Linked DNA regions of Homo sapiens: regions 2, 3, 4 and 5 are each linked to region 1. The links are contacts of gene promoters, found by promoter capture Hi-C in blood cells and fetal thymus (Javierre and others, 2016). All regions are on one chromosome and are shown on one strand. The core of a region is centred on a gene start or on the middle of the fragment in contact, and the rest is flanking DNA. Distances in the headings are between cores, read along the strand shown. Region 1 holds the start of EQTN (equatorin). Region 2 overlaps LINGO2 (leucine rich repeat and Ig domain containing 2). Region 3 overlaps LINGO2 (leucine rich repeat and Ig domain containing 2). Region 4 overlaps LINGO2 (leucine rich repeat and Ig domain containing 2). Region 5 overlaps LINGO2 (leucine rich repeat and Ig domain containing 2).

Region 1 (2,862 bases), core at 125-2,624:
GAGCAGAGATTGCGCCACTGCACTCCAGCCTGGGCGACAGCGCGAGACTCCGTCTCAAAAAAAAAAAAAAAAAAAAAAACAACGATAAAATTACTTTTAAAATTCAAGAAAACAATATTTTGGACTGGATAAAGCCTGCTTAGGCAAGACACAAAATGCAGAGATTATAAAGAAATAAATAAACAGAACTGATATTATAAAACTTGAAATCTTCTCAGTTATTAAAGATACTTAAACAGGCTTGGCCAGGTGTGGTGGCTCGCACCTGTAATCCTAGCACTTTGGGAGGGTGAGATGGGTGAATCGCTTGAGCCCAGGAGTTGGAGACCAGCCTGGGCAACATGATGAAACACCGTTTCTACAAAAAAAATACAAAAATTAGCTTGGTGTGATGGCATGTGCCTATAGTTCCAGCTACTCGGAAGGCTGAGGTGGTAGGACTGCTTGAACCCTGGGAGGTCAAGGCTGGCTGCAGTGAGCCATGGTCGTGCCACTGCACTCCAGCCTGGGTGACAGAGCAAGACTCTGTCTCAAAAACTGAATACGATACAATAAAATAAAATAAGCCTTAAAGATAAGCAGCATCTTGGCAGAAAACATTTATTACTTTTACCGTAAAAAGGATTAATATATTCTACATAAAAAGAGCCCTTAAAAAGAAATGAAAATACAACCTAATGGAAAAATGGGCAAGGGTATGAACAGGCAGGTCACAGAAGTAGAAATAAAATACCCAACAAATACAGGGGGAAATGATGGAAATTTAAAAAGGACACTTAAGTGAAACCAGGATAATCAACTTTTGCATATACATTTCTATTCACTTTAAAGACTTACATTGTTTTATATCTTTATAATAATTGCCATTTTTCTCATTAGCAGGAGCATAATTGGGAGTATGATCTTCATTCTTTTCTTCCTGCTTATTAACATCTTCATTTAAAGGTAGCACATTAGGCAATGCTAAAAAAAAGTATCACACACCATAGATCAGAAATATGTTGATTTCTTTTACTGCTTTCTTTTTCTAACTGCATTTTTTTCACAAAGGATTAGAGGCAGAGATTTAAAATCTAAAACATACCATAGCTCCAACAATAAAGTTTATATCCTCCTGTAGAAAACTGCCACATACCAATTTTTCATGATTATGGGTCATCCTTCTTACCTACTATTTTTATAAAAGTTTTAAATGCTCTCTCACCTTCAATAGTAGGCTTCAAAGTGCTACTTTTTAAGGAAAAAACTCCAGGTATAAAAATAAACAATATAAAATTCATTGGGAAATTGAAGTGATTTATCCAGTAATCTAGTGCGTCTACCCAGAGCCTCCTTTCTGTGGCCCAGCAGGTCCTGTGTCTAACTAGGACATTATGACATCACTGTCAGATGGGCATCAGAATGTTGGTGGGGGTGGGGGTTCCCAACAGCTTTGTGACTCAGTCTGAAGACTGCTTTATCTCAGGTACTATAATGGTTTTTAGTTATTTTTTAAATAAACCATTACAAGATTTTCTTTGAAAGTTAATAAGTGTGTTTTCATAAAAGAATGTTAATTACTCGGCTCTGGATTTTAAAGAACCATTTGTAGAGCACTCGATTCTGTGGCTAGTCAGGGTGCCACTTGTAACCCGCACGGACCTAGGGGACTGAACAAAGGGGGACGAATGCGGGAATAAAAGACAAAGACAAAAGAGTATATTTGGAAGAAGGGGTCGGGGGCACCTTGCCTCTAGTGGGCAAGGGCCCTGAGCTTTACACAGCCCTCTGTATTTATTAGGCAAGAGAGATAGTGAGAAGGAGGATGGAAGAAGGGGTCAGCTGCCCGGTCCAGAGTAGGCATGCAACACTGCATTCTCTAGATGTCGCAGTAGATAACCTCGGTGCCAGGGAGTGATTGCCTCCAGCAAACCTTCTGTGGGCAGGAGCAGTCGTGAGTTTGCCCACATCCTGCATTCATAATAAACAGTTTGCTGTTTGATCATATAGCCTCCAGTGGAATGCTGAGTGGCTCACGTCCCACGAGCCTTCGGCTCCCTGCAACCATTAATATTGTTAAGAGTAAAATGAGAACAGATCTTTTTGTTTCTCAAAGCATTGCAATATGATGTGTTTTCTTGGATAAATGCAATAAAAATATCTTTTAAAAACTAGTCAGAGGCTGGACGCAGTGGCTCACACCTGTAATCCCAGCACTTTGGGAGGCTGAGGTGGGCAGATCACTTGAGGTCAGGAGTTCAAGACCACCCTGGGCAACATGGTGAAACCTCATCTCTACTAAAAATACAAAAGTTAGCCAGGCGTGGTGGCCCACGTGCTTGAACATGGGAGGCAGAGTTTGCAGCGAGCCGAGATCACACCACTGCACTCCAGCCTGGGTGAAGAAGTGAGTCTCTGTCTCCAAAAAAAAAAACAAAAAACAAAAAACAAAACAAAAAAAACAACTAGGCAGAAAAACCAAGTTCTGATGCCAAATGCCCTACAAGTCTACAAGTTCTGGTTAATGGATTATCTTAACTATAATTCTTTAGAAAAGTTCTCTAAAACTGGTCATTTTTAGATTTTAAGGCCTATATTATATAAATAATTAATAATAACATATTATATATTAGTTATATAAATATATTATATATTTTATAAAATATATAATTATATAATATATAAAATATAGGTCTTATATGTATTTATATTTCATATGGCTTTTGGGGTCCAAGTGGTTCTTGGTTGCATTGATGAATTGTATAGTGGTGAAAGCTGAGATTTTAGTCTGCCCATCACCCGGTAGTGTATATTGAACCCAACATATAGTTTTTTATCCCTCACCCAGCTCCCTTCTTCCCCCCTTCTGAGTCTCCAATGTCC
Region 2 (2,862 bases), core at 219-2,718, 800 kb after region 1:
GATCACATGGACACAGGAAGGGGAATATCACACTCTGGGGACTGTGGTGGGGTCGGGGGAGGGGGGAGGGATAGCATTAGGAGATATACCTAATGCTAAATGACGAGTTAATGGGTGCAGCACACCCGCATGGCACATGTATACATATGTAACTAACCTGCACATTGTGCACATGTACCCTAAAACTTAAAATATAATAATAATGAAATAAAAAAATAAAAGATACACAACCTCTTAAAAAAAATTGAAGGGAGCTTATAGGGAAAGGATGAGATGAGCTGGATACCTAGTTTAAGGAAAGTCTGCCAACAGGCCTTGCTTAGCCAATGCTTCTCTTCATTCATTCTATTTTAATAAAAAGATGTTTTTAAAAATCGATACCAAAGTCCAGGTGCAGTGGCTCATGCCTGTAATCCCAATACTACGGGAGGCCGTGGAGAGTGCATCACTTGAGGTCAGGAATTTGAGACTAGTCTGACCAACATGGTGAAACTCCATGTCTACTGAAAATACAAAAATTAGCTGGGTGTGGTGGCATCCACCTGTGGTCCCAGCTACTAGGGAGGCTGAGGCAGAAGAATCGCTTGAACGCAGGAGGCTGAGGTTGCAGTGAGCTGAGATCTTGCTACTGCACTCCAGCCTGGGTGACAGAGCCGAACTCTGTCAAAAACAAAAAACAAAAAACAAAAAGCAAAAAAAAACTCTATACCAAAAACCATTGAATTTTACGTTTTAATGGGTGAATTGTATAATATGTGAATTATATATCAATAAATCTATAACATGTCATATTTCTTTGTCACTGTCTGTTTCCTAAACCTGCACCACAAATTTGGCTTGCTGTCTGCTTAGCACTTTCACATCAGATTATATACTTCTTAGCACCTGGCCTTTCCTGATGTAGGGTAGTTACATCCTTCAGGCATGGATCTTTCTTTTTTCGTCTATATACTAAATATCCTCTGTGTTATTCTGATATTTTTATGTGTGGATACTGGTCACTGGCCAAGGCACATGTGAATTATAAGAGTCAAGAATGCTAAGCCCCATGTGGAGATGCTTAGAGTACCAGTTGGTAGGTGTTAAGCATTATAAAATATCAAGAGTTCACAAAACAATGAGAATGTTACACAGAATATGTCAAGTGGAGCAGGCAAAGCTTGCACCTGTCTTGACAGGGGTCCACAGCTTATTTGAGATACAGAATGTTTTGATAATGGATGGTGCTGATATGGGAGGAAATGGTGAATATGTTTGTGTTATTGAAAAAAATGGGGTGAACATCCTGTGTAACCTTCAGTTAGGCTTTTTGGCTGGCTTTGAAATGTATTTCATGCTACACTGAAGCTGGTGGGTAAGGGAATGAAAACAAACCCATAGGAACTTCAGGTCACATTGATTCTGAATTCAAAACATTATGCTAATAGCATAGAAAGACTGTATGTACTAGATAGGACAGTAGCAATAACATTAGTATTACTAGTTAAATTAACATAATATCTGAAAGCTCCACAAGGTTCCTTACAGGTGATTTTTTTTTGGTATCTTTCATCTGTACCTAAAAGCCATAGCCCCTATTGTGTGTCCTGGGACTGACTATCAGTGGAGCAAAGCATCTAGTGATTATTTTAAAGTGCCAATTCACGGATTTGAATAAATACAACAAAATATCAGCAAACAAAAAGGCTTTTTATTTTTGAAAAATATTTATACAATTTGTCTGTGCTTTCTTGTTTTTTGTTTTGTTTTCTTATACCCTAATGTTTGTTCCATGATGGAAGCTTAAATACCACGTGGACAAGTGGAGAAGAAGCTTAGGCTTCATCTTCTCCCTTTTTTCCTACATAGAATCAATGAAGAGTTCTCACTGACTTAGCCATTGGGATAAATTGATACTGTCCAATCTCTCCATCTTAGCTGACACCATCCTGGCCCAAGCCACCACTGTATCTACTTGGACTATCACAATACTGTTCTGTCACCTCAGAATTATGTTTGTTCTACTCTCTATTGAAGCAAGAATGATTTTTAAAAGGCAAATATGATAATATTAGTCTTTAACACTCTTAACACCCAAACTATCCTCATGAAATATTGATTCACACTGATAAAATGGCTTTTGAGGCCAGGAGAAATCTGGTCTTAAAAAACCTACTTCTCCAACTTCATTCTCCACCACTGCCCCCAAAGTTGCCATGCTCTTGCCCTCCTGTCCTCTTGTTCAACTCAGACCCTTTACTAATGCTGCTCCCTCTGTCTGAATGTTCTTTCACTCAGTTGATTGCTGCACATTTTACAAGTGTGATCATATTACTTCTACAAATAATATGTTTTTACCTCTGAAAATCTACTGTGTTCTCTGCTATCATAGCATCATGTACTTCTGCTCTTAGCACATAACAAGATCATATTCAAAATATTATTGTGGAAGTATTTGTTTCAAATCTGTTTTCCCATTAGATTGAAAGCTCTGGGGGCAAACATTGTCTTATTCACTGGTATATACTTCACACCTAGCATCGTACCTAAAATATATTGGAAGTTCAAAATTATTTGACACATAAAATCATGAATAAAATCAATAGAGTCCCCATGAAAGCTTCTCTTTCTGTAATAGCAGGTGCACCACACATTTCAGAGCAACAAAAATCTCTTACAATGTGAGCTCTTAGCATGTGCTAGGCACTAGATATGCAGAGACAAATGCAATGCTCCCTGCTTTCAAACAGCTAACTCATAGTTTAGAGGGAGGTAAGCAGAGGGCTTAAATAGATAAATCAGAGTAAAATGTAGTAAATGCTAACATGGAGATTTGAACAATGTTATGTGAAGTAGAGAGAAATGAACACATGCTGATGAGGA
Region 3 (2,862 bases), core at 120-2,619, 780 kb after region 1:
ATTTTAAGGTAGAAAAATTTGTCCATTTTTTCCTTTAATATTTTTGCTTTTTGTGCTGTGCATTAGTTTGAAGTAAATATGCCTTTTTCCCATATAGATTAACAATTATTCTAGCAATATCTATTGAATGGCTCATCTTCTTCCTAATAATTGCAATATTATGCCTGTCATACATGCTATTTGTCTATTCCTGCAGCAGGATATCCTGTCTTAATTACTATTGTTTTAAAATCAATCTTTAAAATCTGGTACCACAATTCACCCCACATTTTCTTCACAAATTATATTTTCAGAGCCTTTGCTCTTCTAAATACTATCTTAGAACTGTATTGGGATTTTAACTGAAAATATGTTTGGTTGATCTTTTTGTTTCTCATTTCTTTTTATACCTACTGGTTTGGTATTTAAATACACTAGCTCCATTCTGTTAATTGATACCATTGAAGCATGAACATGCATACTTAATAAAATCTAAAGTTAATCAGTGTCTTTAACTTCCCCCCAAACAGTAAACATATCTGAAAACATTTTAATTCTGATCTCTTCCTAGCTTACATTGCATAGCTTTTTTATATTTTACCTCAAGCTTTTTTTTTCATTTTAGTCCAACAAGTTAGATGTTATGATGTTTATTTTTAAGAATAGGTTTAAATCTCCCAACAAGTATGTCTTATTTTATTTTTGATCACATTCCTTTCTTCATGTCAGATTTTCTCTGATGTCAATTATTTACTTCTGAAACATTCTCTAGGAAGTTAAGGTCTTTTGCTGATAAATTAAAAAAAAATTCTGGAATGGAATTTATTTCCCTCTGGTTCTTAAAACCATAGTTTTATTGGGTTTCAAATTTTTGATTGTCAGCTATCTTTGGAGCACATTAAAGGTCCATTCCACTGGCTTCTGGATTCCACAGTTGTTGGTGAAAAGTTACCTGTCAAACTCATTTCTGATGCTTTGTAGGGGAGCCATCTTTTCCCCTCTGGCTGCTTTTAGGGGATAAACCAAGGGGTTCATTCTTGAAATTCTAATGTCTATTATTTCATTGTTTGTTCTGGTTTCCAACAAAAGACATTGGAAATTGTGCAGTAAGGTTGAAAATGGGAATGCATAGTGACAGAAGTAAGTAGGGGTACTTTTTACCAACATTTTGACGTGACTTAATGAAGTTTGACTGCACAGCTTACTGGTTTCTACCCCATAGAAAACTACAGTAAGTGACTCTAAAACAAAAACATTTTGGCGATGTGAACATGTGGTCAGAAAAATAAAAACCAGTCTGAAATCACAAGAAAACTGACAGTCAATGGACCACCAAGATGTGTTTCCACTAAATGGTATACATACATACAAGTACCACAAAATCTTAGATAGGAAGTAAGAGTTGAGTAAGGCCCAGTAAAGAGATAGAGTTTGTTGAGTATGATGAATTATTTCCCAGAAAATCATGAAATATATTTTCATCTAATCAAGTGAGTCTTACAAAAATGTGCTCCCATTTTGTATACTATCTTATAGCAAAGGATACGGGTTGGACAGCTTATGAATCCACATGTATACACTTTATATACATTTGTCACATTTTATTCACTCATGGATTCATTCATTCACTTAAAACTATTATTAAGTCCATCTGTGTTCTGGGAACCCATGTTCCTATTTAAGTAAATGCATCAAAACTATTATCTTATTTTTTTCATAGAGATAACAAAAACTCTCAGGCTATGAAGGCAATTGCAATGCAAGTATGCTATTTAATTACTTGGGGAAGAGTAGTTTCATTAAAATGTCAGCTAAATTGAGTAGAAAAGATGCAAAAAAATAAAAACCAAAACCCACTCCAATGTTATCTAGAGATTTTTCAATGGTTTTACTTTATTATTTGATATGGTTGTAAAAAAAGAAAGAGAAGAAAGAAGAAAGAAGTAGAAAAGAAAGATAAGAAAAGGAAGAATCCTCAATCTAATAACCTCATGCTCAATTTTCAGTTACTTGTCTTTGTGAAAATGAACCTACTCTACTGCTTCTTTGAAGGAAAAGAGCAGGCCTGATTTCATGATTAAGCGTCAACTCTAGAGAATGATGTGGTTGTAATCTGTCTGCCATATGTGTTATGGTTAAGTGGTGGTTTAACATATCTTTTTTTGTAAAACTTAAAGCTTAACAAATAAACAAATAAATAATGGCTCTTGCCTTAAAATATGCTGGTAATGTATTGACAGAGAAAAACATAACCCTTTTACTCCTATTTATATTCCATCATTTCTGCCAGTGAGAAGGATGGTCAGGCTAGTAAGAGGAGCAGATATTTGCGAGAGGAAATTGAAGCCCAACAAGATGAGTTAACACTCAGGAAGTGTGTGTCTCCTGCCCAGATAGAACTGCAGGCATGCAGGGCAACTGAGAGGATGTGCAGTTTAGTTTGCAGAGTTGCTACCAGCAATGTTTGAGGAATATGGAGAGCAGAATAGGTATTAAAGGACTGATTAGGACAATATGATGATGAAAAAAACTTTAGAGAACTTAAAGAAATGTCTAAATCTGATTTTTAAATAGACTATTTTTTTTTAGGATTTGTGAGCACATGGAAAAAGAATAGTGATCCTAGGAGCTACCATATATGCCTTATTGACAAATTATGTTATATTGACCTTGCTTTATTTTGGGTTAAGATCTCTAGACTCTGCCGGGCGTGGTGGCTCATGCCCGTAATCCCAGCACTTTGGGAGGCTGAGGCGGGCGGATCACCTGAGGTCAGGAGTTTGAGACCAGCCTAACATGGAGAAACGCCGTCTCTATTAAAAATACAAAATTAGCTGGGTGTGGTAGTACATGCCTGTATAATCCCAGCTACTCAGGAGGCTG
Region 4 (2,862 bases), core at 196-2,695, 760 kb after region 1:
CCCTTTTATCTTCCTCAAAAGTGAACAAAAACAGAGCAGGCATTAATTTGACTTTGTCTTTTGGTCAACAGTTGCCTCCCCTAATTCACAAAAAATTATAGTAAATAAGTTTAAGTTAAAAACCCAATAGCTTATATTGATATCCACAAATACCATATTATAAGTGATCATATTCCAGGCTATAACTTAATTTTTAATTTTCAATATTTCCTTAAGTTTACTATACTAAATCTAAGCCTTAGGTTGTTATGCCTTATTTTAGAAATGGAGCCTTTTCAAATATCCAAGCACTACTTTCACATATTCCTGTTTTTTGTATGCCTCATACTACAAAGCTACAGTCTTCTTTCCTCTTAAATGTGAATACTCCTTACATAAGCTTTACTGAAATTTAATTTGCTTTCTGATTAAAACAAAACGCACAAACTTGCAAAAAAAATATATATAGCCTCCCAGAGGGAAGCTAGATGGTAATCAAAAATTTCCAAAAACCGGAGAATGCTTTACTTACAGAAAGCATTTCAAAGCAAAATGCTGAAGTCTTTTGTTTTCCTTGTGGTTTATCCTTATGTAAATTGGCTTAATTTTTTAAGTTTCTGCAGACAATTTCTTATGAACGTGAAAATAACTTACGAATAAGGTAGAAGCCTCAAACTGATTTCCTTTTCCCTGTAGTTGCTTATAACATGTGTTTTAAATGGCTTAGTAATTTCTTGATAGAACAGGTACAGGTGGATGGAAAAGGGCTGCTCAAATAAACTCTAAACAAGCTTCAGCCAAGGAGTCTGAATGGCCAGGCTATTTTAGCTATTGCCACATTTCTGTTGGGTATAAGGGCATTTGCAGCAAGTCTGTTTGCATAAAATAAGAACTTGTAAAAAGAGAGTAAGGTTCACTTTTAGGAAAATGTAAGGTACTTCTGTGGATTGGCTGTGACTTCCACTTTGAATTGGAATTCTTCGTTCGAAGTGTAAGGCTTCAGTCTAATTTCTCAAAATGTTTTCTCTCTATCATAGGCTTACATAAAAACGGCGTCTTGCTATTAAGTTTGTTAGGTTTGCTAGATTGTCAAAAAACAAAATGCTTCTTTGTTAACTACCTGTTACTTAAAATTCTTTAAAAGATATGTACTCAAAGACAAGTCTCTCTTGGAAGTTTAAGTAGTTCAAATTGCTATCTTTAGTTCTATTTGAAGCCTATGGATATAGTTTTATCTAAAAAAGTCTTCTTGCTTAGTCTGTTCACAACTTACTTTGGTTTCGAAGGAGGCATTTGGCAAAAGTTAAATGTGGCTGATTACCACGATTACTTCTCGAGACCCTCACTAAGACAGTTACTACTTGAATCTATCATTACAACAGTTACTATTGTTACTACTTGAGACCTTCATTATGAGACGAAAAGAAAGAACATAGAAATGAAAACTTAAGACAAAAGAAACTATTTTAAAGGAAAGATCCAGAGAAAAAAGAAAGGAGCTCCCCGCTTTCAGTGAGCAAAGGCAACCTCTGAGCGTCTACCGCCCTTCCTATTTATTGTGTAGCAAGAGCAGGGCGGAGCAGGTAACGATTGGTCGGCTGCTTAATTGATAACAGGTTTATATTATTACTAACAGGCTTCAGATGTGCCTAATGGCAAGAAACACTGCACTTGGGGCGTGACTGCCCTCGGCATTCCTTCTGGGTGGCAGACTCAATTTGTCAGTTTGCTGACATTTTGCATTTATGAGAAACAGTTTGCTGTTTACTCGTACAGCCTCCAGTGGTATATTCAGTAGATCACGACCCTCATTCTTTCAGCCTCCATCAGTTAAATATTGTTTTTGTCCTGTCTCAGCACTCTTTCCATGGGAAAACTAGTTTCCCATACTCTTTAATGAATATCATGTGGTTCTTCTCATCTACACCACCCACCTTCACATCCCAGGGATACCTCAGTGATTTGCATACAGCTCAGACCTGAATACAGCACCCTACACAGTGATTGGCTAAAGCCAATTAGCCCCTGGCAGGACCTAGCAAGAAAACCATAATTTAGGATCTGCAGCTCTAAGAATGATCTTAGATATGTCACCAGCTGTTCTGCAGATGTATGGAGCAGAAGAGACAGGGCCTGTGGCTTAAGCTTGACTTTTACTTTCGTCACTTGCAACTCCAAAGAATTCTGATATATACAGAGAGAAGCTAAGTTGTTAGGCATTTCTTTTATAATGAAGTGTCATTGTGTCTTTGACATGTGCAAATTCTCAGTTCATGCTTTTTTAAAATACAAGAATGATAGAAACTGAAATGACCTTGGATTAAGCATGCTACATAATTGTCACATAATTTGATATTATATTGGATTTTAAGAGAGTGTCTTGGTTTAGGTTAATCACAGAAACACTTTCCATAGTGTTGATGATTCTATATAAAATAACTAAAGAGTACCAAGAAATAAAATGAAAATCTACATGATAATGTAATGATTGTTATTCTAATTTTGAAGTAGTGGCTGTTGCGCTTATGAATGAATGCAGTTAGACCAAAAAGTTAAACCTGACTTAACCCAAGATGTCTATGCCTGTTCTACTAAGATGCTGGCTACACTATTTTTTTCTGAGGTATTCCAACTGATTTGGGCTGAAATATATTCCACATTTAACGCATTTGGCAACCAATAAGTTAAGCAAAAGTAAAGTTTTTTTTTTTTATTGCAGGATTTCTCAGAACCCTGTTTATGATAATGTGTATTGTAAATCTACAAAAGGGAAACAGCATATTCAGCCTTTCTCAAGCTTATTTAATTATGGAACCATTTGCCAGTAAGCGCTTTTGAGGATTAGTGTTCTATGAGATACAGTTTTCAAAATTTAGGCCCATG
Region 5 (2,862 bases), core at 183-2,682, 740 kb after region 1:
GCCTTCAAAATGGGAGAAACACTCATCTTCCTGGAGGCCGAGACTATATAAAGGATGTGATTTCTCTGATATATTAAAAATTTAAGTGGTGGGCTTGTGTTAGCTTTGGAGATACTCACTAAATAAAATGGGACCATCCACCATGTTTAACCTTGTTTTGCATATATTAAGCAGTCTCTTTATACCCACTTCAGTAGAAAAACAGGATGGTTTTTTTTTTTTTTTACAATTTTTAAAAAATTTAACATTGACATAATTATATTTATGGGTTACAATATGTTTTGACTTATGTTTACATTGTGGAATGATTAAATCAATCTAATTGAATCCATCACCTTACAAATTTCTAAAAAGCTGATGGATTTTGATGGCATCAGATTGCTTTAGTAGGAATCTAGGATCTGCCACTTACTTGCTGTGTGACCTTAGCTACTTCTCACTCACTTTCCTCATCTTTAAAGTGGGGACAGTCTGGTGTCTGCCACACAACATTGGTTTTGGGATGAGATTAGTTGAGATAATTATGATCTGCTCTGTCTGTGTCGGCTAAGCCGATTATTGTTTGTCCAGGGCTGATTGGGAATACCTGGGAGACCTCTGCCAGCTCCCTTTCAGTGCTGTATGGCAGCAAGCTGTCCAGAACACACACTTGTCTATCAAAGGAAAACAGATCATTACAGAGAGATATTAGTGATTCTATTCTTAAACTGTTGGGTAAAACCACGCTTCACCATGATGCTCCAAATCCTCCTTAAAATACCTTCAATCTGGTGTATTATTGTGACAGCCAACTGTGTGCCAGGCAGGCAGTACCTATTAAAAGTTGTTTGGAGATTAGGGCTCAGAGAACAGCTGGGTACCTTTGTTACTAGCAGTCTGCTGACTCAAAATGAGGGGTGGGGGGGGAAAGCCTCACTGGGATGAAGACAGCAAAGAAAAACCGCAGAGCTGGGGGGAAAATAAAAACAGCTTTGGCCTTTGAAAACCGATTGCTCTGCTGTCCTGTCATGAAGTAGGTAATATGGGCATTCACAATTCCACACAGGATCTAATTCAAGTCTTAAAAAAAAAATACAACATGATAAAAACCCAGGTCCAGGTGCAGGCTGTTTTCTCTTGGTACTTGGTTTGAGGAAGCATTTGTTGCTCTATTATGAAAGCGCACACACTGCCTGCCCTCGCTGCCCAGCACCCCACCTCAGTCTCCAGGGCTATAGGAATGCTGATCACAGATGGGCTCCCACTGCCTTAGCAGAGGGAGATTCCTGTCTTTGTCAACATTACATATGATTCACATAACTAACTGCTCATGCCTTATGATTCCAGGCAATCAATGGTGAATCTAGTTACAGCTTAAGAGAACCAGGTGCCAGAAATATCTTCCATCTCTCAGTGCCTTTGGGCATTCTCATTCAGTACTGAAAGCAGCTTGACAAAGGAGGCAACATAAATGTTTTTAGTCCCTTTTACAGATGAAAACACTGAGACCCAAAATGTTCAAACATCCTGCCCATCGTCCCAGAACTAGTTGGCGACAGACCAGGAATCTTGGAATGAAAACCTATAACCCATGAGTGAGCATACAGTGACATAGATCCTGCCAGAAACACTCCACATTTTCACCCCATGACAATGGACACTGTGTCCCTGAAAAGTTCTACTTTGGTTTGGGTCTAGTAGATGGTGCCACATCAGGGAAACACTGTACAACAGAAGGGATACAATTTTAAAATAAAGTTTTCCATCAGGCGGCTGCCTTCTTTTGTCTGAGAAAGATTTGTGCCTGAAAGTTTTAGGAGACAGCATCCCAGTCAGCTTCATTCTTTCTCTGATAATTTATCCATATGAAATCCTTGCGGCTCTCAAATCAGATGAGAAATGTTCTAGAATACTAGAAAACATGGTGTAGACAGAAGCCAGTACTGTTGCAGCTAATACAAAGCCTGAAACCCTCTGCATTTGCTGCTATGATCCCTTTACTTACGTTGTTAGTTGCGTATGTGAATTGTGCCTTCCATTCCCTTTGCAAATGTTCAGTGGGCTTGCACAGTGTGTTACACTAAATAGGTGTGCATGAATTTTACCAAATCTCATTGAATTCCTATGGCTTGTCTTCAGAACTATACATGTTACATTCCAGAGTCAAAAGAAGCTCAGTGATGGGGGTGGGGCAAGAGTCAGTACCCTCCGAAATGGGAGCATGTTGGAGACACTGTGGCAATGCTAGGGAGGGGGATCTCTTATTAGCAGTCATCAAAGGTTCTTGCCCACTTGCACTGGCCTGCTGTTCTGCCCTACTGAAACCTGTGCAGGAGAGAACCATCAACAGCTTTAGTTGGTGGGAAGGGGAGGCAGAGCACTAGGAGAATAAACTGCCACGGTATAGTTGTAAAAGGCTACTGGAAAGTAAACACACCAAAATGTCAATTAGGTAATTTCATCATGGACTGATGCTTTCTCTCCTAGTTTTTTTATATTTTGAGGATGGATTACTTTTATAATGGCAAAAAAAAAATTACTTCAAAATTTTTTGCAGTGTTTCTATTCTGCCCCAATTTAATACCATCCTTACAAAGCTCACATCATGTGTGAAACTTATTGAAAAGTATAACCAGGATAATCTGCTAAATTCGTTAGGAAGACAGAAGATGTAGCTGACTTCAGTGAGAGTTTGAAGTGAATGCAACCCAAGTCATGTATAGTTCACTTGAAGGACATTTGTTCAGTCAACAAGGATTTCCCATCCCCCACACCCAAGTCCAGCCCTTTCCAGTGGGCCCTTGTGCGTTTTATTCTTGTAAACACACTTCAATATCACCTTCTCTAAGAAGGGGCTGTTCATTTGTATGAGCTTCTGTAGGT

The links. Contacts are between HindIII fragments. The CHiCAGO score rates a contact against its expected background, and 5 or more counts as called.
Region 2: a contact is called between a fragment that was not itself captured here and the fragment with the promoter of EQTN in region 1, in 1 of 17 cell types (M2 macrophages). The highest score is 6.0, in M2 macrophages.
Region 3: a fragment that was not itself captured here is called in contact with the fragment with the promoter of EQTN in region 1 in 1 of 17 cell types (M2 macrophages); the score reaches 6.2 in M2 macrophages.
Region 4: a fragment that was not itself captured here is called in contact with the fragment with the promoter of EQTN in region 1 in 1 of 17 cell types (M0 macrophages); the score reaches 5.1 in M0 macrophages.
Region 5: a fragment that was not itself captured here is called in contact with the fragment with the promoter of EQTN in region 1 in 1 of 17 cell types (neutrophils); the score reaches 6.2 in neutrophils.

What each region holds. Positions count from the first base shown.
Region 1 is chr9:27,295,776-27,298,637 of GRCh38, forward strand. EQTN (equatorin) reads right to left here and starts at 1,375. Exons shown (of 8, transcript NM_020641.3): 1 at 1,205-1,375; 2 at 838-963. The coding sequence starts at 1,280. The HindIII fragment of the contact is 8,347 bases long and covers 1-2,862 here.
Region 2 is chr9:28,097,638-28,100,499 of GRCh38, forward strand. The region is part of intron 6 of LINGO2 (leucine rich repeat and Ig domain containing 2); the gene reads right to left. Among named protein-coding and RNA genes, the nearest start is that of C9orf72, 530 kb to the left of the region's middle. The HindIII fragment of the contact is 622 bases long and covers 1,158-1,779 here.
Region 3 is chr9:28,075,888-28,078,749 of GRCh38, forward strand. The region is part of intron 6 of LINGO2 (leucine rich repeat and Ig domain containing 2); the gene reads right to left. Among named protein-coding and RNA genes, the nearest start is that of C9orf72, 500 kb to the left of the region's middle. The HindIII fragment of the contact is 1,570 bases long and covers 585-2,154 here.
Region 4 is chr9:28,054,602-28,057,463 of GRCh38, forward strand. All of the region lies in intron 6 of LINGO2 (leucine rich repeat and Ig domain containing 2), which reads right to left. Among named protein-coding and RNA genes, the nearest start is that of C9orf72, 480 kb to the left of the region's middle. The HindIII fragment of the contact is 1,354 bases long and covers 769-2,122 here.
Region 5 is chr9:28,031,144-28,034,005 of GRCh38, forward strand. The region is part of intron 6 of LINGO2 (leucine rich repeat and Ig domain containing 2); the gene reads right to left. Among named protein-coding and RNA genes, the nearest start is that of C9orf72, 460 kb to the left of the region's middle. The HindIII fragment of the contact is 2,911 bases long and covers 1-2,862 here.